7 separate regions of the Homo sapiens genome follow, and all the other regions are linked to region 3. The links are contacts of gene promoters, found by promoter capture Hi-C in human tissues and cell types (Jung and others, 2019). All regions are on one chromosome and are shown on one strand. Each heading gives the region's core, a stretch centred on a gene start or on the middle of the fragment in contact. The rest is flanking DNA. Distances are from core to core; before and after follow the strand shown. Region 1 overlaps PTPN9 (protein tyrosine phosphatase non-receptor type 9). Region 2 overlaps PTPN9 (protein tyrosine phosphatase non-receptor type 9). Region 3 holds the start of CSPG4 (chondroitin sulfate proteoglycan 4). Region 4 holds the start of PTPN9 (protein tyrosine phosphatase non-receptor type 9). Region 5 overlaps FBXO22 (F-box protein 22). Region 6 overlaps FBXO22 (F-box protein 22). Region 7 overlaps UBE2Q2 (ubiquitin conjugating enzyme E2 Q2).

What was found. The method cuts DNA at HindIII sites, captures the fragments that hold promoters and counts their contacts. A contact is called where the count stands out against the background at its distance.
Region 1: a contact is called between a fragment that was not itself captured here and the fragment with the promoter of CSPG4 in region 3, in 1 of the 25 tissues and cell types used here (stomach).
Region 2: a fragment that was not itself captured here is called in contact with the fragment with the promoter of CSPG4 in region 3 in 2 of the 25 tissues and cell types used here (dorsolateral prefrontal cortex and mesendoderm cells).
Region 4: a contact is called between the fragment with the promoter of PTPN9 here and the fragment with the promoter of CSPG4 in region 3, in 2 of the 25 tissues and cell types used here (adrenal gland and pancreas).
Region 5: a contact is called between a fragment that was not itself captured here and the fragment with the promoter of CSPG4 in region 3, in 2 of the 25 tissues and cell types used here (heart left ventricle and mesendoderm cells).
Region 6: a fragment that was not itself captured here is called in contact with the fragment with the promoter of CSPG4 in region 3 in 1 of the 25 tissues and cell types used here (mesenchymal stem cells).
Region 7: a contact is called between a fragment that was not itself captured here and the fragment with the promoter of CSPG4 in region 3, in 1 of the 25 tissues and cell types used here (liver).

Annotation. Positions count from the first base shown.
Region 1 is chr15:75,536,250-75,538,949 of GRCh38, forward strand. The region is part of intron 1 of PTPN9 (protein tyrosine phosphatase non-receptor type 9); the gene reads right to left. Among named protein-coding and RNA genes, the nearest start is that of PTPN9, 42 kb to the right of the region's middle. The HindIII fragment of the contact is 5,613 bases long and covers 1-2,700 here.
Region 2 is chr15:75,463,558-75,466,257 of GRCh38, forward strand. PTPN9 (protein tyrosine phosphatase non-receptor type 9) reads right to left here. Exons shown (of 13, transcript NM_002833.4): 13 at 1-2,700. Among named protein-coding and RNA genes, the nearest start is that of SIN3A, 13 kb to the left of the region's middle. The HindIII fragment of the contact is 4,221 bases long and covers 1-2,700 here.
Region 3 is chr15:75,711,450-75,714,149 of GRCh38, forward strand. It overlaps CSPG4 (chondroitin sulfate proteoglycan 4), which reads right to left and starts at 1,399. Exons shown (of 10, transcript NM_001897.5): 1 at 1,219-1,399. The coding sequence starts at 1,306. The HindIII fragment of the contact is 20,321 bases long and covers 1-2,700 here.
Region 4 is chr15:75,577,928-75,580,627 of GRCh38, forward strand. PTPN9 (protein tyrosine phosphatase non-receptor type 9) reads right to left here and starts at 1,388. Exons shown (of 13, transcript NM_002833.4): 1 at 787-1,388. The coding sequence starts at 849. RefSeq lists silencers at 596-995, 1,256-1,745 and an enhancer at 955-1,553. The HindIII fragment of the contact is 16,601 bases long and covers 1-2,700 here.
Region 5 is chr15:75,929,764-75,932,463 of GRCh38, forward strand. It overlaps FBXO22 (F-box protein 22), which reads left to right. Exons shown (of 7, transcript NM_147188.3): 6 at 121-286. Among named protein-coding and RNA genes, the nearest start is that of FBXO22, 27 kb to the left of the region's middle. The HindIII fragment of the contact is 5,750 bases long and covers 1-2,700 here.
Region 6 is chr15:75,913,104-75,915,803 of GRCh38, forward strand. It overlaps FBXO22 (F-box protein 22), which reads left to right. Exons shown (of 7, transcript NM_147188.3): 3 at 100-187; 4 at 1,007-1,102. Among named protein-coding and RNA genes, the nearest start is that of FBXO22, 11 kb to the left of the region's middle. The HindIII fragment of the contact is 3,628 bases long and covers 1-2,700 here.
Region 7 is chr15:75,895,298-75,897,997 of GRCh38, forward strand. UBE2Q2 (ubiquitin conjugating enzyme E2 Q2) reads left to right here. Exons shown (of 13, transcript NM_173469.4): 12 at 1,698-1,764. It also overlaps the pseudogene RN7SL510P. Among named protein-coding and RNA genes, the nearest start is that of FBXO22, 7.2 kb to the right of the region's middle. The HindIII fragment of the contact is 4,691 bases long and covers 1-2,700 here.

The DNA.
Region 1 (2,700 bases), core at 19-2,518, 180 kb before region 3:
AGTACAGTAGTTGTTGAGAAGACACAACATAGATCGCTTCTTGGCCTTTCGCTAAGATCAAGTGAGAAGACACAACATAGAGACATAAAGACCCTATTCCAAGCAGTTTACAATCATTTAACTATGGAGACAGATGTATAAATACATCTTTACCACATAATGTAATAAATTCTAGGAAGGTTCTATGAACAGAATGCTATGGGATTCAAACTCTCTCTATGGATATAAAAAAAATTTTTTTAGGAGTGCCTTGAAGGATGAGTAGGAATCTGTCAGGCAGAGAAAAGTATTCTAGTCAGAGAACAAAATGTTTCAAATCAGGGTCATGAAAGAACAGGGCTTATTGGGGATATCATATAGCTAGTGTGTCCAATGTGTATGAGGGAGAATGGTGGGAGATGTGTGAACAGGGGGGCTGAACCAGACTGGGAAGGCCCTTGTATGCTGTACTTCAAATTCCAGACATGATCCTATAAACATAAAAGATTCAATAGAGATCTTTAAGCAAAGGGATGAGATGATGAGTTTGGTTCCCCTCTCCCACCTCAAAAAAATAACTATAAGCAGTGGGGAAGTCAGACTGAAAGGAAAAAAAATCTAGCAACAGGGAGGTAAGTTCCCTGAAGACAGGGATCATATCTATTTTATTCACCTAGTTCCTAGCACTGTGCCTGGCACAAAGCACTTACTTAATAAATATCTATGATGAATGAATGAATTAATTATTGAAGTCTCAATATTATTAACATTTAGAGGGCAGACAGAAGATGAAGAACAAAGGAACTTTTACAATTTTCTTTTAGAAATACTAGTGATTGCAGGCCAGGCATGGTGGCTCACACCTGTAATCCCAGCACTTTGGGAGGCCAAGGCAGGCGGATCACCTGAGGTCAGGAATTCGAGACCAGCCTGACCAATATGGCAAAACTCCGTCTCTACTAAAAATACAAAACTTAGCTGGGCATGGTGGTGGGCGCCTGTAATCCCAACTACTCAGGAGGCTGAGGCAAGAGAATTGCTTGAATCCAGGAGGCTGAGGTTGCAGTGAGCCGAGATCATGCCATTGCACTCCAGCCTGGGTGACACAGTGAGACTCCGTCTCAAAAAAAAAAAAAAAAAAAAACTAGTGATTGCTGAAAATCAAATAAATGGTGATCTAAACAAAAACAAGAGGAATCGTCAAATATCTTCCCTAAAAAAAAAAAAAAAAAAAAAAAAAAAAGGCCAGGCTCGGTGGCTCACGCCTGTAATCCCAGCACTTTGGGAGGCTTAGGTGGGTGGACCATGAGGTTAAGAGATCAAGACCATCCTGGCCAACACGGTGAAACCCCCACCTCTATTAAAAATGCAAAAAACTTAGCTGGGCGTGGTGGTGCGCACCTGTAGTCCCAGCTACTCGGGAGGCTGAGGCAGGAGAATCACTTGAACTCAGGAGGCGGAGGTTGCAGTGAGCCGAGATGGTGCCACTGCACTCCAGCAGGGCAACAGAGGGAGACTCCATCTCAAAAAAAAAAAAAAAAAAAAAAAGGCCAGGCGTGGTGGCTCACACCTGTAATCCCAGCACTTTGGGAGGCCAAGGCAGGCGGATCACCTGAGGTCAGGCGTTCAAGACCAGCCTGGCCAACATAGTGAAACCCTGTCTCTTCTAAAAATACAAAAATTAGCTGTGTGTGGTGGTGCCTGCCTGTAATCCCAGCTACTCAGGAGGCTGAGGCAGGAGAATCACTTGAACCCAGGAGGCAGAGGTTGCAGTGAGCCAAGATTGTGCCACTGTACTCCAGCCTGGGAGAGAGAGCAAGACTTTGTCTCGAAACAAAACAAAACAAAACAAAACACACACACACACAAAGCTTCACAGTAAAGATAGCTCTCACATTACAGGCTTCTCCGAGGAATGTAAAGACTTGGTTTAACATCAGGAGATCTATCAAAGCAATTTTTATGTTAACAGGAAAGGAAAAAAAAGTATATAACCTTCTCAACAGATGCTGAAAATGCACTGCGTAAAATCCATCACACATAGGCCCCGTAATTTTTTTCTATTAAAGATGAGAAGGCCAGCAGGTACCTGCTATTACCACCACTATGTAACATTGCACTGAAGGTCATACCTAACAGAAGCCAAAAGATGCGTAACAACCTGATGCAAAAAGACAGGAATTTTAGGCCAGGTGTGGTGGCTCCAATCTATAATCCCAGCACTCTGGGAGGCCGAAGTGGGCAGACTGCTTGATCTCAGGAGTTCGTGACCAGCCTGAGGAACATGACAAAACCCCGTCTCTACAAAAAATACAAAAATTCGCCCAGCATGATGGCACACGCCTACAGTCCCACAAGTGGGAGGATCACTTAAGCCCGGGAGGCAGAGGCTGCAGTGAGCTGAAACTGTACCACTGCATGGCCCCCCAGCCTGGGTGACACAGCCAGACCCTGTCTCAAAAAAAAAAAGGAATGTTAAAGAAGAGAATAAAATTCAGAAACCACACAGTGTATATCTAAGTATACAGTATATGAAACAAGTAATATGACTATTAGTAAGCAAAAAGTATTATAGGAATTTAGATATGCACATAAATATTTGTAGGATACACAAAAAACTGGTAATAATGGTCACCTCTGGGGAGAGAAAATGAACTGGGGCTGGGTGTAATGCTTCACACCTGTAACCCCAACACTTTGTGAGGCTGAGGCAGGAGGATC
Region 2 (2,700 bases), core at 41-2,540, 250 kb before region 3:
CATTTAAGACTTCAGCAGGCCACATTTAGCTCAAACAGGAGGATTTTATGACAGCCAAGGTAAAGAAGGGAGATTTAAACATTGTAACAGGTTTCAAGGTGCTAGATTTTTTTTCCCCCAAGAAAACATCTCCAAGTAAAAGTGATATATTTCTATTTGTGGAGAAGATCCTAGTCTTCTCTGTAGTCAATTATGAACAGTGCAGTCTAGAACACTTGATATTCACAAGTGTTGTGTAAAGGTAACTATAGGGCGGATACCTCCTAAGAGAAAAAGATGGTTCCCAGGCTGATGGGCATTTCCATTCCTGCCCTTGGTAGGCTCACAGTGGTTTGTGGGAGTAACCAAGGCCAGAGAGAAATCTAAGGACTAGGTTGGGAGCTATAGGACCCTTGGTCTGTTCATGCTTTGCCTCTGAGAAACCCTGTAGACCCCACATTAAGAAACAGGGAAACTTTAAAGGCCTATAGGCTGGTCTTGGAGATGACAGAGACCTGACCTGCTTTTCCTCCAATTGGAAGGCCAAGGGGGAAGAGAACTGAGGGAAGCTAGGGAAGTAGCAGCAGCTTGAAAGAAGAGACTCTGAAAACACACTAAAACTGGAGAGGCTGGGTGTGGTGGCCCATGCCTGTAATCCTCTCACTTTGGGAGGCCGAGGCAGGAGGATTGCTTGAGGCTGGAGTTCGAGACCAGCCTGGGCAACATAGTGAGATCCTGTCTCTAGAGAGAGAGAGAGAAAAAAAAAAAAAGCTGGGTTCCTGCTTGAGCCCAGTTGTTGAGACTGCAGTGAGCCATGATCATGCCACTCCCCTCTAACCTAGGCAACAGAGTGAGACTCTGTCTCTGAAAGTAAAAAAAATGAAAAGTGGGGAGTGCTAGTGGGAGCCAACTCAACCCAAGTAAAGGCCTAATAGCTCCTCTATGGGTGTTTGCACTGTCTAACAAAGAACTGGACCCTGACAGTCAGAGGACCCATGGTAGGATCATCTAGTGTAGCCCCTTCTTTTACAGAGGGAACCTAGGACTTGGGTTTGGTTCAGTGGTAAGACCTCAAAACCACAAAAGAGCTGGGTCACTCTAGAGAAGCTTTTCTACTTGGCCAATGCCTCTTGGCCCAATTCCCTCTAGGTCTCTGATTTATAAAAGTTTTTGTATGTGTGTCTGTCTGTCCCAAGAGACAGGAAGCATTCCTTTCAGGGAAGGAACCAAATTTCCCTAGGGCTATGATGCTAAATAGTCCATTCTCCCAAGAACAAGTCCTACTCTGTCATTTACCTGCATACTGTCACATGAAGACTGATAAGGGTGGGCCTCCGAGGCTGAGGATGCTGGGGCACCCTTCGTCTCAGGAGTCCCATCCTAGCCAATGAGGATGGGCAAGATGAAGGGAGCAATGGGAAAAAGGACACAGGGATTATCTCATGTTTGAAAAATTATATAGCATGGGAATGTTAGAGAAAGGTGAAACAAACAGCCATCAAATCAGAAGCAGAAGCCTGCTTTAGCTCAGTGTTTTCTTCTTTCCTGAACACTGTCTTTCTTTTTTATTTATTTATTTTTTTTGAGATGGAGTTTTACTCTTGTTGCCCAGGCTAGAGTGCAATGGCGCGATCTCGGCTCATTGCAACCTCTGCCTCCCAGATTCAAGTGATTCTCCCATTTCAGCCTCCCGAGTAGCTGGGATTACAAGCACATACCACCACACCCGGGTAATTTTTATATTTTTAGTAGAGATGGGGTTTCATCATATTGGTCAGGCTGGTCTCAAACTCCTGACCTCAGGTGATCTGCCCACCTCGGCCTTCCAAAGTACTGGGATTACAGGCATAAAGCCACTGCACTTGGACCCTGAGCATTTTCTCTTGCTTTGTTCACTAAGTCTCCTGTATGAGAACCCTGACTTGCCAAACAGATTCTGGGTTGCGTCTCTGCCTTCCCTTTCCTTTACCTCCTCCTTTAACACCTAACACAGGTAGGTTCACGCTGGTAAAAGCTACAAACAATGGCAGTGGGAGGAGTTCCTCTGAGTTTTACTGAAAATTTAGGAGACATCAATTTGTTAACTCTCTATAGGGTCAGAAACATGAACTAAATCTATGGTTCCCAAACCTGGATAATCCTGTCACTCACTAACAACCTACTGGATGGGCCCAGAAATCAGCATTTTATGGAGCTGAAGTGATAGATAACCTCACCAGTCTTCAGATATGCAATGAGGAACTCATGCATAACCTTAAATTCACAGGGCAGTCGGGTTACAGCCTCTTCAAATAAATGACAATTTAAAGTTACCTCCTCCAGGCCGTTTATCATTAATCCCATTTCTTACATGTTCCACCAAACCCCTGACCTCTCTGGTTTCTCAGATTTCCAAGAATCTCTGTTCACTTCTTATGTTTGTGCACTCCCAAGAGAATGGAGGCTCATCTGGAGAAGGAACTAGATTAATCTTCTGCTCTACACTTGAGCTCCTGATTATGGTAAGAAACTCGATAAAAATTTATTGGCAGATCAGAAGATGGATCCTTAGAGGAAGTCTAGTGTAAGAGGTGAAAGAAGATACTTTGGAGTCAGATGGTCTGGGATCCTGGCTGTAGCAAATTAACATTCCTGTCTCTCAATTTTTTTCTTCTGTCAATACCTACCTCAAAAGGTTGTTGAGGGTGAATGAGATGATACCTAGAAATTACTCTGAACAGT
Region 3 (2,700 bases), core at 149-2,648:
GGATGCTCCCTTCCCATCTCCCTGGCGGCCCAGCCCATCCCTCAGGCCCTGAGATCTTAGGGGATCTGGTCCCTGCAGGAACAGGGAGCCTGGAGATCCAGCCCTGATTCACCCCGCGGGGGTCCTCCCTTGACTCACTTCCCTTCTGGGAACCATGTGATGCCCTCTTTTAGAGCTGGCTTCTCCATCTGAAGGAGAGAAGGGTGTGGCCTGGGCCCTTGTGAAGGAGGCTCAGGCCCTGCCTTTGCTCCATGTTGCTCTTGGGAATGATCTCGAAGGTGTAGCTGAAGCACTGAATCACACGTGGGTAGTGATGATGGATGGGCCCTAAGGCCACAGTTCTTATGGCATAACTAGAGCTGCCTTCGCTGAAGGAAGAATGCTGTCATGTTGGGGTTTCTGGCATCGGGACAGAGAGGGGATATATCCCAGCACTTCTCGGAAAGCGAACTTCCATTCAGCCTCTGCTGGGTCAGGCATCAGTGCTGGGATGAGGAGGTGTGGCAGGGGGTGGTCCAGAGCTATCTGTAGGACAAGCCCCGCTGAGGGGCACCAGCTCTCCCTCTAGGAGGCTGAGAGTGGGTAGTGGGTGGGGGGTCCTGCCTGTCACCAACAGGAGGAGGGAGAGGAGAGAATGAAGAGGGGAGGTGGCAGATAGACGGATCTGCAAGGAAGCAAGGGGAGGAAAGAAGGGGCAGAGCTGGGGGGCAGCTGGAGGGGTGTGGGGGTGCTCCTCACAGGGGAGGGCAGGGTGGCTCATTCCTCGTTTCCCACCTTGTAGCACTCCCCATTCCTGGCCCAGGGCATCTGAAGCTGGAGGACCCACTTCTCACTGTCGCCGGGTCCCTTTGGACCCCAACATACTCACCCCAAACTTGCCTGGCAAACAAAGCTCGGCCAGCATTGGGGTGGCCCCACTGGTGTCTCAGACAATCCAAACGGGCAAAGCCACGCCCTAGGCAATCCATGCCTGGGGCGCCTGCTCCCGCCCCTAACTGGACAGCCTTGGCTAGCTAGAAACCCCATAACCTGAGATAGCGGGGTCCCGTGTCCGCCCCAGGATTGAACCCCTGGCGACCCCAGCTAGTGGTGGGAGAAGCGCAGCCTGCTTGACTCCCGATCTGGGGGCCACTTCTGGCTCCTCCTGTCCCTTTTCCCTCCCGGAGGAACCCCTCTAGTTCCGCCAGGCTGGGTCGGGGTCTCAGGCCCCTCACTCACCCGCGGATGCAAGTCTGGCCAACATAGTCAGGGTCAAAGCCAAGGCCAGGCCGGGGGCTGGAAGTGGGGGCCGCGGCCCGGACTGCATCCCGGCGGGCTGGGCGGCAGGACTTGCGAGGAGCCAGCGGAGTCCTGGGAGCTGGGAGCTGAGTGGAGCGAGCGCGGCTCTGCTCCTGGGCGCGGGCCGGCTCCGGGTGTCCGCGCACTTAACTCCGGGGGCGGGGCAGGCGCAGACCCGCGCGCCCGCTCGGGTTTCAGGCTTGGACTCCCCCACCTGCCCCCACCCTCAACCTTCTTAAAGGGCCCGTGCGGGGCTGTTCCTCTCTGGGGCAGGGGTGAGGGGGCCCTTGCAGCTGGGCCAGACCCCAGCCCCACCCTAAAGACTTAGAACAAAGTCATAGAGAGGCCCAGACACCCTGAACTCTGGCCCCAAGAGCCGAGCCCGGGAGACCCCCTCAGGGAGGAGGCATGAACTGTCCCAGCCCCTACTTCCCTCCTTTCTGCCTTTGCGGGAGTTCAGGAGACCCCTCCACAGGCACACTCCAGCCTTAGGAGGAAGGACAGACACCAGCCACCCTCACAGGCGGCTTTTGGGCTGCTTTGCCTCGGAGGTCCCCTAGGAACTTCTCCAGACTCCAGAGGCACCACCCGAGGTCCTGTGGGGCACTGCCCATGGCTGCAACAGTGACCTTCTCTGCCTGGAAGGGCCTCACCTCAGTCTCCCTGTCTGTAAGGGAGAGATGTCTGGATTTCCTCGCAGGGCAGAAGAATTCTCAGTCCCGCCATGACATTTGCCTCAAAATAACCTTGCAAGGTGGGTGAGGAGCATCCCCTCCCCCATTTCATGGAGGACGAAAGTGCAGCTCAAGCTGAAAGTGGCTCTTACAAGACTCCAGGTGGAAAGTAGGTCCCTGGCCGTTTGGTGCCAGAAGCCCAGGCCTCCTGACCCCTGAATCCGGGTGTTTCAACTTCCCGAGGCTGCCTCCTGGAAATCTGGCCCTGGATTTGGCTTCTACCTAACAGCTTCAGGCTGGGGCCCTTCTGCTGGCTCCCTTCCAGGCAGCAACATCAGCCTAGTCCCAAACAGGAGGAGAAAGGGCAATGTTACTTAGCTTCCGGTGCCTAGAGGATCTGCGTGTTCTCTGTCCAGTCCCAATGTTACCGGGCCTTGGTTTACTTCCTCCATTCAGGTCCCTCCATCTATCTGCTCCAGCCCATCTCCAGCCCAACCCCACCTTGCACCCTCTTCCCAGCTCTTCCCTTTGACCAGTAACAGCCCAGCACTTCATACTTTGCAACGAAACTGAGACCTGTTTTGCAGATGAAGAAACTGAGGCTGAGAGAGATTAAGGGACTGGAGCTAGTCTACATAGCTGCTGAGATGTGGGGCCAGGTCTTTGACCCTAAGTGCAGTGCTCAGGTGTGATGGTGCCTGGTCCATGTGGGGGTTATGAGTATTGGTCTTGAAACCAGAGAGACCTG
Region 4 (2,700 bases), core at 138-2,637, 130 kb before region 3:
TCCGCAGCTGGAATGTGCGGGAGGGAAAGTTACAAGGGCCCCCAAAATGAGACAGCAAACCACTTCCTTCTGAAAACTAAAGGTCATAGGCTTTTAAGGAACAATAGAGCTCAATGTAAGCTTCAGAAAGATGGAGACAGTCAGATGAGACGAGGGTAGGGAAGCGCGGGTGAGGAGATGCGCCCCGTCTGGGATAGCTGAATAGGGGGGTCAAGGCCAGGGACTTTAGGAACACGAGAAGGGCTGGATCTTCCATAACCTGCCCAAGTGGGCCTGAGAAACCTAAGAGGCTCCTCTGAAAATCTAGGGCATCTATGCATCCAATACTCTCAGCCCTCTCCTCGGGAAGGGAGATAATCCCCACAGGAAGCACCCCCCAAACTGGGGCTTTTCCTGCCCTTCAAAAGCCACAAACCCTCACGGAAAACATTTACAAGGGAGTGGAAGGGCCGGGGGCAAGCAGCGGTTCTGCAAATCTCGGGAAGAAGGCCCCTGGATCCAAGGAACTTTGCCCCTGGAATAGGGGGTGGGGTGCGGAGGGCACCGTCTGAGGCTGGTAAGCCTCGGCGAAAGAAGCGGCGGGAACGGGAGTAGGGTCCCGTGGGTCCCCCGACGAGGGGGTGGCGGCCTGGGGCGCGGTCGCCGGTGAGGGAGGCCCGCGAGCCGGGCACGGGAGCGGGGGGCTGCGGCCCCGTGGCTGCAAAGAGCCGGCACTCGGGAGGCAGAGGCCGGCGTAGGCCTCGGGGGCCCGGACACACCCAACGCGGCGGCCTCGGGCCCGCTTACCTGCTCCTCCTCCGGGGTCAGCTCCGGCGCCATGTCGGGCCGGGGCGCGGTCGCGGGCTCCATCCCCCCGCCACCGCCGCCGGGCGGACAAAACTCGCTCGCGAGCGCGGGAGCCCGGCGCGCTCGGCCTCCGCTTCCGCGTCCCCGCGCCTCAGCAGCCCGGGGCCGGCTCGCGCATAGTGTGGCCGGCAGGGCCCGGCGCCTGCAGCGGCCGCAAACGCCGCTTCTGCTTCCTTAAGAAAAATCTCTCCGAACTGCCGCTCTCTTCCGGGAGGAAATCCTTTTTTATATTATTCGCTCCGTTCCTCACACTCCCCCTTATCTCCTGGGGAAGAAAAAGTGCAGGCGAAGAGCTAACAGCCACTCGGGATTTAAAAGGAAATAGGAAATCAGGAACTTTTAGAGCCGGGAGCGAAGGGTCGGCGGAAATTTCCCGAAGGCCGCCGACCCCCTCGGCGCCCCGCTTCCTCGGCCGCGCTCCCGCTCCTCCACAGCGCCACAGAGCTCGGGGCCGCCCAGCCGGGCCGTCCTCGCGGACGCTGGCCCTGCGACCTGCGCGGCTGCCTCAGCCAGGCTCCTCGCGGGCGGCCGCAGCGAAAGGGAGGGAGTGGAGAGGGAGCGAGGGAAACGCGCCCCCCTCCTGACTCACGGCCAACGCTGCGGCCGCCCCGCGGCCGCCCGAGCCCCCCGCGGCTCCATTGAGAAACTGAGCGTCTCATTCACAAGCTGGCGGCGAGGAGGGCCCGGCGGAGCGAGGACGCAGTCCGGGAGGGGGAGACAGAGAGGAGCCCGGGCGGGGGAGGGGACCGGGAGGGGGAGGGGACCCGGGCGGGGAGGGGACCCTAGCTGGACGGAAGGCAACTCGACTGCGGGAGGGAGAAAAAGGAAGAAAAGAGTATTTCGTGAGGCTCAGATCCTCGGAGGAGGAGGAGAATACGTTCGTTTGCAAATTATCTGCTGACTGGCACCTCTCCTGGGGTTAACTTGCCGCTGCCACCTACGCGTGAGAAACCCACAATCCTCAACTATTTGTCGCTTGCAGCCTGAAAGACCCTGGAAAGGTTGCCTGCCAGGCCAGGATGCTTAGGTGGAAGGAATCGCACCTGCCTCCCTCTCTCTCCCTCCTTACTGGCTGCACCCTGTAATTCATCTCCAGTGTCGCTAATTTTAATCCCCCATAGAAACGACATCAGACTCCGAACATCATTCAGGAATGACGCGGCCTTTGCAGACCTTTGATTTTCACTAGGGCAAGTGCAGCAAAGGGTTCAGGATTAGGGGTACAGTCTTGGAGTCATTTGGGGAGGAATGGGGCATAGAGAAGGCAAGGCTGGGTCTGGTACGTTGTTGCATTATTCCAAGCCAAAGATAAATATTCCAAAGGGACCCAAAGTCCACAACTAGTTCCAAGGCTGAAGCCCTGGAGCCAGTCCTGAGGGACCCAAAGGAGGGGCCTTCAGACAACAGGAAGGTGCTGTGAGTTGTGATGCTCCTATGATTTTTTTTTTATTTTTTTTTTTGAGACGGAGTCTCTGTGTCGCCCAGGCTGGAGTGCAGTGGCGCGATCTCGGCTCACTGCAACCTCCACCTCCCGGGGTCAAGCGATTCTCCTGCCTCAGCCTCCTGGGTAGCTGGGATTACAGGTGCGAGCCACCACGCCCGGCTAATTTTTGTATTTTTAGTAGAGACGGGGTTTCACCATGTTGGTCAGGCTGGTCTCGAACTCCTGACCTTGTGATCCGCCCGCCTCGGTCTTCCAAAGTGCTGGGATTACAGGCAGGCGTGAGCCACCGCGCGCCTGGCTTTTTTGTTTTTCTTTTTTTGAGACGGAGTCTCACTCTGTCACCCAGGCTGGAGTGCAGTGGCGCGATCTCGGCTCACTGCAAGCTCCCCCTCCCAGGTTCACGCCATTCT
Region 5 (2,700 bases), core at 1-2,500, 220 kb after region 3:
TTAAGCCACTAAATTGCCCTTAAGGTGGAGTGCAAGTCAGTAACATTTCATTTTGCAGCATGTATAAAATAATTTCTGTTTTAAGGCTGTCTTTAACTGTTGCTCTTCATTTCTCTGCAGGTCTTTTAGATAACCCTGAACTTCGTGTGGTCCTTGTCTTTGGTTATAATTGCTGTAAGGTGGGAGCCAGTAATTATCTGCAGCAAGTAGTCAGCACTTTCAGTGATATGAATATCATCTTGGCTGGAGGCCAGGTGGACAACCTGTCATCACTGACTTCTGAAAAGTATGTCTTGTGTGCTTCTGATTTCGTCTGTGAATGAAGGGAAATGGTCTCAGGTTTTGTCACTTTGGGGTTAACAATTTAAAAAACGTGTTTAAAGAATTATTAAGATAATAGTTCATTCCATTTTGTAGTAGACATTGGCTAAGGGGCTTACTGAACATAATTCTGCTTACGGTTGAATAATTACATTTTTATATATATTGTCCTTCAAGAACTTCCTTGAGTCACATTCTCCTTAAAATTTGACATTGCCTGTTGATCTTTCCTTTGACAGATGTGGTACTCTGTGTGACCTCAATGTGTCACCTCCTTTCTAGTTTCCTCCTTTAAAGGAAACACATGGTTAGAGTGTATCTTTATGGCAAAACTTCTCAGAGCTTCTAATATGCCCAGTGCTGTGGAAATCTGGAAGGAGAATAGCATTACCTGTGACAGTTCCCAAATGTGTTTGGTCACAAAACTTTTTTCCACAGAATGTCTTGCAAGTCGTACTGGTTTTTGGAAATTCTGTATTAGATCTTTTGAAAGGCTTTTTCAAGCTTAAAAATTGTGGATCTTTTTTGTTACTAAGGCTTTTGCTTTCAAAGATAAAAATATTTGCTCTTCTGTCTTGGGAGCCATTACTTCCTTTCCATCTTGAATGAAAATACATATCATTTTGAGTTTGAAACAATTAGGTGGACATAAATATCATTTGTTTCCAGCAGGAAAATCAGACCCTACCCCACCCTCAATGCTTGTAAACACTACTATTTGTTTCCCACTCTGTTTAATATTTGCATCCTAGAGTGGTGACATGGGGACAGACTGTTGCAGATCAGTATCTATAAGAATAATGTAAGTCATCCTAGTTATAGTCTCTCTTCTGGTTATCTCTATGAGCTAGATCTGGGAAAATAGCTAAAGTTGAGGTCCCTGGACTGCCAGGGAGGAGGAAGAGAGGAAGGCCAAGTACGTTGAATCCCAGGCAGGATATCAAACACTGGATTTTGTGCATACATACACTGAATTCTTGGTGGCTATCTAAGTTATTTCCCCTCTTGCCTAATTTTTCCTGTGTCTTTGCTATTAACTTAAATTGTGTACGGATAGGGCAATGGTGATTCAACATACAGTTTACCTTTGAAATGCAGATACCTCACTCAGACTTATAACATCTGAGGTGCTAGCTTGTAAGTGTAGCTATTTGTATATCATCTACTTTTTATACCTAATAAGAGAAACACCCCCCACCCCAATCATTACTCTTCACATGACCCATTAATTTTAATGTGGTCTTCATACTCTGTCAGTGGTTAAGAGAAACCATTGAGTAAATGAGGGCTCCATTTTAATAAAGTCCAGATAACCCAACTGACCCAGTGCCCCAAAAGGAAGATGTATAATTCTTTGAGGCAAGATTGACAATGTATATTAACAATTCTGTACCAAAGAGGAAATGTGATAAAGTTTTAAGAGCAGCAGAGGACTTCAGAAGACGGATTTTGCCCCTCACAAACTTGTTTTACTACTAGCTAGCCTTATTACTTTAGTCACTTAACCTTTTTGCGTCTTAGTTTCTCACTAATCCAGTGACTCTTGCCCATTTTATAGATTCAGATGTTGGAAGCATGATACAATACTTGTTTATCCCCTAGTGGATGTTCACTATATTATGCTTTATTACTTTTATCAATGTTGTATTTTCTTTTGTAAGGATATTTCATTTTTTAAAAAAACCAGGCAAATATAAACAAAAACAAAGCATGAGTTTTTACCATCAAATTAAGCTGAACTCTAGACTCAAAGCAATAAACAAGACAAAAAAATAACATAATCATATTTTCTAGTGGACTAGACATAAAGCTAAAACTTCTAGAGTTAATAGGTTTTTAAAATTATCCTCTGAGTGCAGTGGCTCATGCCTGTAATCCCAGAACTTTGGGAGGCTGAGGCAGGAGGATTGCTTGAGCCCAGGAGTTTGAGACCAGTCTGAGCAACATAGTGAGACCCTATCTCTACAAAATGTTTACAGATTAGCCAGGTGTGGTGGCATGTATCTGTAGCCCCAGCTCCTTGAGAGACTCAGGCAGGAGGATTGCTTTATCCCACGAGTTTGAGGCTGCAGTGAGCTATGATTGTGCCACTGCACTTCAGCCTAGCTAACAGAGAACCCTATCTCTAAAAAAATAAAATCACCCTCCATTATTATATTTTTAATATACATCTTTCAGAATTTGACAGCTGAAGTCGGGGGGAAGAGATGTTAATGTAAACAATAGCAGAAGGCTTCGTTTAGTGGATATCTTTGTGTATATTAATAAAATTATAACATTCCTTTTAAGGAAGTCAGAAAGGTAAGGAAACTGTACTTTCTAATAACCGGATATGGGTTTCAGAAATCGTTATGGATGTGCATTGCCCCTTTGTATTTG
Region 6 (2,700 bases), core at 188-2,687, 200 kb after region 3:
ATTTGATTGCACTATGGACTGGGTGATACTTCAAGGGACTATGCAGAAGCACTGATGGATTCATGGGATCCAATTCCAATTTTTTTTTTTTCTTTGCAGAATGTTCGCATCTTACCACATACAGTTCTTTACATGGCTGATTCAGAAACTTTCATTAGTCTGGAAGAGTGTCGTGGCCATAAGAGAGGTAAATATCAAAAGAAAAGCTTTTGCTTCTGTTTTTTTATCATGTGCCTTCCGTTCGGAGTTCAATATTATACTTGTCCTGAGAGTTAACTGACTTTCTGAGGCTCTGGGACTGCCACCTGTAGTATGCATCAATATATCTATCTTTGAACCTTGAGGAACCCTTTCTGCTTCAGATTGATTTCTAAACCTTGTAGTGCAATTGAAACAAATTCGTTAGAAAGGTGTTGTTCTCAATTTGAGATGCTTTAATTCTCCAGGCACTTTTTATTATTAAAACAGGTTGTATGACTTGGCTATTCAGGCCTTTTACTGTATTGGAACATGAGGTCCCATTTACTAAAGTTATGTAGAGAAATGGTGCATTTTTGGCTTGCTGAGGGAAAAGGCAGAATGGGTATCCAAGATGCGCACACTCAGGTCCCAAGTTAGACTTAGATAATGGATTCTCATTGTCTAATTTGATCCAGGTGACTGTTGATGCAAATAGTAGTTATACTGCAATATCAGCTGAACAGAAAGGTACAATAGCAAGTCTAAAATTCAGCTGTTACTGCTAAATTTGACATCACTGGGGCAAAAGCAATATATGAACAGAGGGGAAAGGCAGACTAGTGGTGCAAAAGATCAGATTTATAATTTAAAAGCCAGGACCAAAACAGGTAAAGTGTTTGTTTTAATCAATGCTTTTAGACCTTTATTTAGAGCATTCTCGTGTTAAATGACTTAAATATTTCCAGTATTTGCTTTTTTACTTTTTCATTCTCAGATTTGACTTTAAATGGATGATATTTATCATTTTGCTACTGTATTTTTACAGCAAGGAAAAGAACTAGTATGGAAACAGCACTTGCCCTTGAGAAGCTATTCCCCAAACAATGCCAAGTCCTTGGGATTGTGACCCCAGGAATTGTAGGTGAGATAAATTAGCAACTTGATGATTTCTTCCTTGCATTAATGTGGGGTCCTTTGGATTGGTGAGTTATTTTTAGCTTAGAACCACATTTCTATTTCTGTCCATCTAAAATACAATAAAGTCAGTCATATTTACCATGGCATTATATTTGCCTTATATTAATGTTTATTAAGTTATTGTACTTCTCATCTCAAGGTTACCTGTATAAATATCCAGTAGTCATTCATAAGAGGGGAATGATCTCATTCTGCCTTCCTCCAAATTAGGAAGTATTTGTGGGCATTTTCAGAGTTTTGTCAGTTCAAGCAGTATTGTGTTTGGTGGGTAGGGGTGAGATGGGGCTGGGATTAGGAGCAAAGCTGGGCCTTACTAGGAGACTTCTGTTTCTCTGCTTTGGTACCACTCTTCAATGTTTACAGCATGAGGTTGTGCCCCTTTCCATGCTTGATTGCTGCTGGTGAATTTTTGCTGGTTTTTATTATTTTTGATTCTTTTCTGTAGTTAACTGGGGGAGGAGAGATTCTGTTGAGGCAGTAATGGTGCAATGGTTAGATACCTGGATTCGAATGCCGGCTGTACCGCTTAGTATCTGTATGACTTTGAGCAAGTTACCTAACTTCATGGGGCTTCACTGTCCTCATCAAGGAAGTGGGGATGATGACAGTAGTACCTTCCTTGGAGGGTTGTGAGAATTAAATGAGTTAACACTTGTAAAGCATTTACAATAGAGATACACAAAGCAGTAAGTAAATGTTAGCTGTCATTTATGTATTGTTTTTGAGATGGAGTTTCACTCTTGTCACCAAGGTTGGAGTGCAATGGCGTGATCTCTACTCACTGCGACTTCTGCCTCCTGGATTCAAGCAATTCTCCTGCCTCAGCCTCCCAAGTAGCTGGGATCACAGGCGCCCGCCACCACCACACCTGGCTAATTTTTGTATTTTTAGTAGAAACCGGGTTTCACCATGTTGGCCAGGCTGGTCTCAAATTCCTGACCTCAGGTGATCCACCGCCTCAGCCTCCCAAAGTGCTGGGATTACAGGCATGAGCCACTGCACCTGGCTGCTGTTATGTTTTTTTGTTCCAACTCAGTAGTACTCTACTGAGAATTGTCATTTTTAATCTTCACTGAAAGATTTTTGATCTGAATTTGAGTCTTATACAGTGAGGTAAAAAGAATTTTACATGTTTACAAATGAATATTATTTGTTCAGTTGCTCTAGCTGTGGTTTCTAAAGGGCTTAACATTTTTTTAAAAAAAAGAGTTTATTTCTTTTTGGCCTGGCGTGGTGGCTGACACCTGTAATCCCAGCACTTTAGGAGGCCGAGGCAGGCGGATCACTTGAAGTCAGGAGTTGGAGACCAGCCTGGCCAACATGGCAAAACCCCATCTCTACTAAAAAATGTAAAAATTGGCCAGGCGCAGTGGCTCACGTCTGTGGTCCCAGCACTTTGGGAGGCCGAGGTGGGTGGATCATGAGGTCAGGAGTTCAAGAGCAGCCTGGCCGACGTGGTGAAACCCCATCTCTACTAAAAATACAAAAATTAGCCAGGCATGATGGCGGGCACCTGTAATCCCAGCTGCTCAGGAGGCTAAG
Region 7 (2,700 bases), core at 19-2,518, 180 kb after region 3:
CCTCAGCCTCCCAAGTAGCTGAGATTACAGGTGTGCTCCACCACGCCTGGCTAATTTGGTATTTTTGTAGAGACGGGGTTTCTCCGTGTTGGTCAGGCTGGTCTTGAACTCCCAGCCTCAGGTGATCTACCTGCCTCAGCCTCTAAAAGTACTGGGATTACAGGTGTGAGCCACCGTGCCTGGCCGGCTTTACTATTTTAAAGAGCTCTTAGATGTTGAAAAAGACTACCCTGTAGAAAAATAGGAAAAGTCCTTACATAAATTTAACATGTTAAAAAAAAATAGGAAAAGGGGGTATAAAAAGTCTGTTTACAGAAATAGAAATAAATGGCTCATGAACATAATGGAGACATGCTCAGTCTCACTCAATAGAAATACAAATCAAAACTATACTGGGAGTCCATCTAGTATATTGTCAGAAATCTACAAATGTTTGAAGTACTGCATTGGTGAGGCTGCATCGAGGCACTCTTACAGATGGCTGGTGGGCAGACACATTTGTGCAGTTATGTAGAGGGCAATTTAGCAATATCTCAGAATTACACATATATATCTTTTGACACAGCAGCTCTACTCTAGGACATTTTTACCAGTACTCAGCAGATATACGTACAAGGTTGCTCTTGGCAACATTATAACAGCAAAATATTGAGAAACCCTGATGTCCACCAATAGGGGACTGATTAAATATTTGAATATCCATATAATAGAAATATTTCAGTGTTTAAAACAGGTATGTTCTATACTGATAAGGAACATTCTCCAAGATATGCTAGACAAGAAAAGGGGCAGACCAGTGTCTGTAGCATGCAACTGTTAGTGAAGGAAAGCCAGGGACAGTGGCTAATAACAGTGGGCTGTACATGAATAATCTTAAAGAGGGACATACAAGAAATTAGTAATAGTGGTTAACTTGTGTGGAGGAAGGGGGATGAACGGGAGGAAACTGGGTGTTCAGGGCACCAAGTAGGAGGGAGAGTTTTCACTTAGGATGTAGACATTTTTGAGTCTTGTGCTGTGTGAATTTATTATGCAAAAATTTCTGCCACATAATATAGTGGATAGATGGGTACCACTATGGAGAGTGCTCCTGGTATATTAATTCGAAGCGAAGATATAGGTTGGTTGTACTTATGGTGACAAAATTAATCCTAGATTTGGCTCCTTAAAAAGATTGTATATTTTTATCAAAAGAGGGCTCCTTTAGTAAGCATGGTGACAATTATGGGCATTCTTTAGATTTCTAACTTAAAATGTCATTCATATGTATAGTTGTGGAAGCTTAATATTTTCTTATCTGAAAGTAATATTTTGTAGTTTTTTTAAAAATAGAAATTGTGTGAAGACAGTTTGAGTTTTATTAACATCCAGATATAATCCTTTAACTTGATTCAGCAATATGGAGACGGACTCTAGAACCAGAAAGCTTTGTACTTGTCCAATGGTAGGAAGACTTATAAAAATGAACTGTGAGGCTTGTTGAGTTTTATTGGGGTACAATTTTGGTTTTGTTATTTTTATAAAATTGTAGAGAATAATGAAACTGAGAAATGAGGCTATTAAGTTAAAATTGTTTTTGAAATGGAGATAGTCAGTTTCCCATGTTCTTTTAAGCACAGTGTGATGCATTCATAAATTTATTGTAATAATTTTCACCTAATTACACTTTTGATTTAAAATGTGTAATTCTCTTTCAGAATCAATATAATCTAGCAAGAGCCCAACAATCCTATAATTCCATTGTACAGATACATGAGAAAAATGGTATGTTTAATTCAATAAGTGTTTATTGCCATTTAAGAAGTTTTAGATAATGTATTAATACTTACCATTTTATTTTTCTGTTTTTGCTTTAGTTTCTTAAAATGCTGTTACCATGGTGAAAGAAACTTGTGCTGCATACAAAATCTTTATTTATTTATTTATTTATTTTATTTTATTTTATTTTATTTGTTTTTTGAGACGGAGTCTCGCTCTGTCACCCCAGCTGGAGTGCAGTGGCACTATCTCAGCTCACTGCCAGCTCCGCCTCCCAGGTTCATGCCATTCTCCTGCCTCAGCCTCCCGAGTAGCTGGGACTACAGGTGCCTTTTTTGTATTTTTAGTAGAGACCGGGTTTCCCTGTGTTAGCCAGGATGGTCTCGATCTCCTGACTTTGTGATCCGCCCGCCTCGGCCTCCCAAAGTACTGGGATTACAGGTGTAAGCCACTGCACCACAAAACCTTAACATTGTACTTCAGTCAAAATTTTTGTATCCTATACACTTGGCCTAGGTATCTCAGAGTCAGAATCAAGATTTCTTTTTTTTTTTTTTTAGTAGATTAATGAATGACTCACTTTACTTACTTGAAATATTAGGAACTGAGTTAAAGGCAACTCCTTACAGATGGAGTTCTTGTTGTTATAACTGGAGTGCAGTGGTTGTTTACAGGCGTGATCATAGTGGACTGCAGCCTCAAGTTCCTGGGCTGATGTGATCCTCCTGCCTCAGTCTCCTCAGTAGCTTGGACTGTAGGCACAAGCCACCATGCCTGTAAAGTATTCTTTACTTTGCTAGAAATGTGTCAGTTTGTGACTTAAGATTTGTGTTTTGTGCTCATTTATTTTAATGACAAAGCAAACTTGTCACTCTTTCAGTGATTGCTTACTTATGGAAATAGTATTCAAAACAAAATTTTCAAGCAGAAGAGAGAAACGAT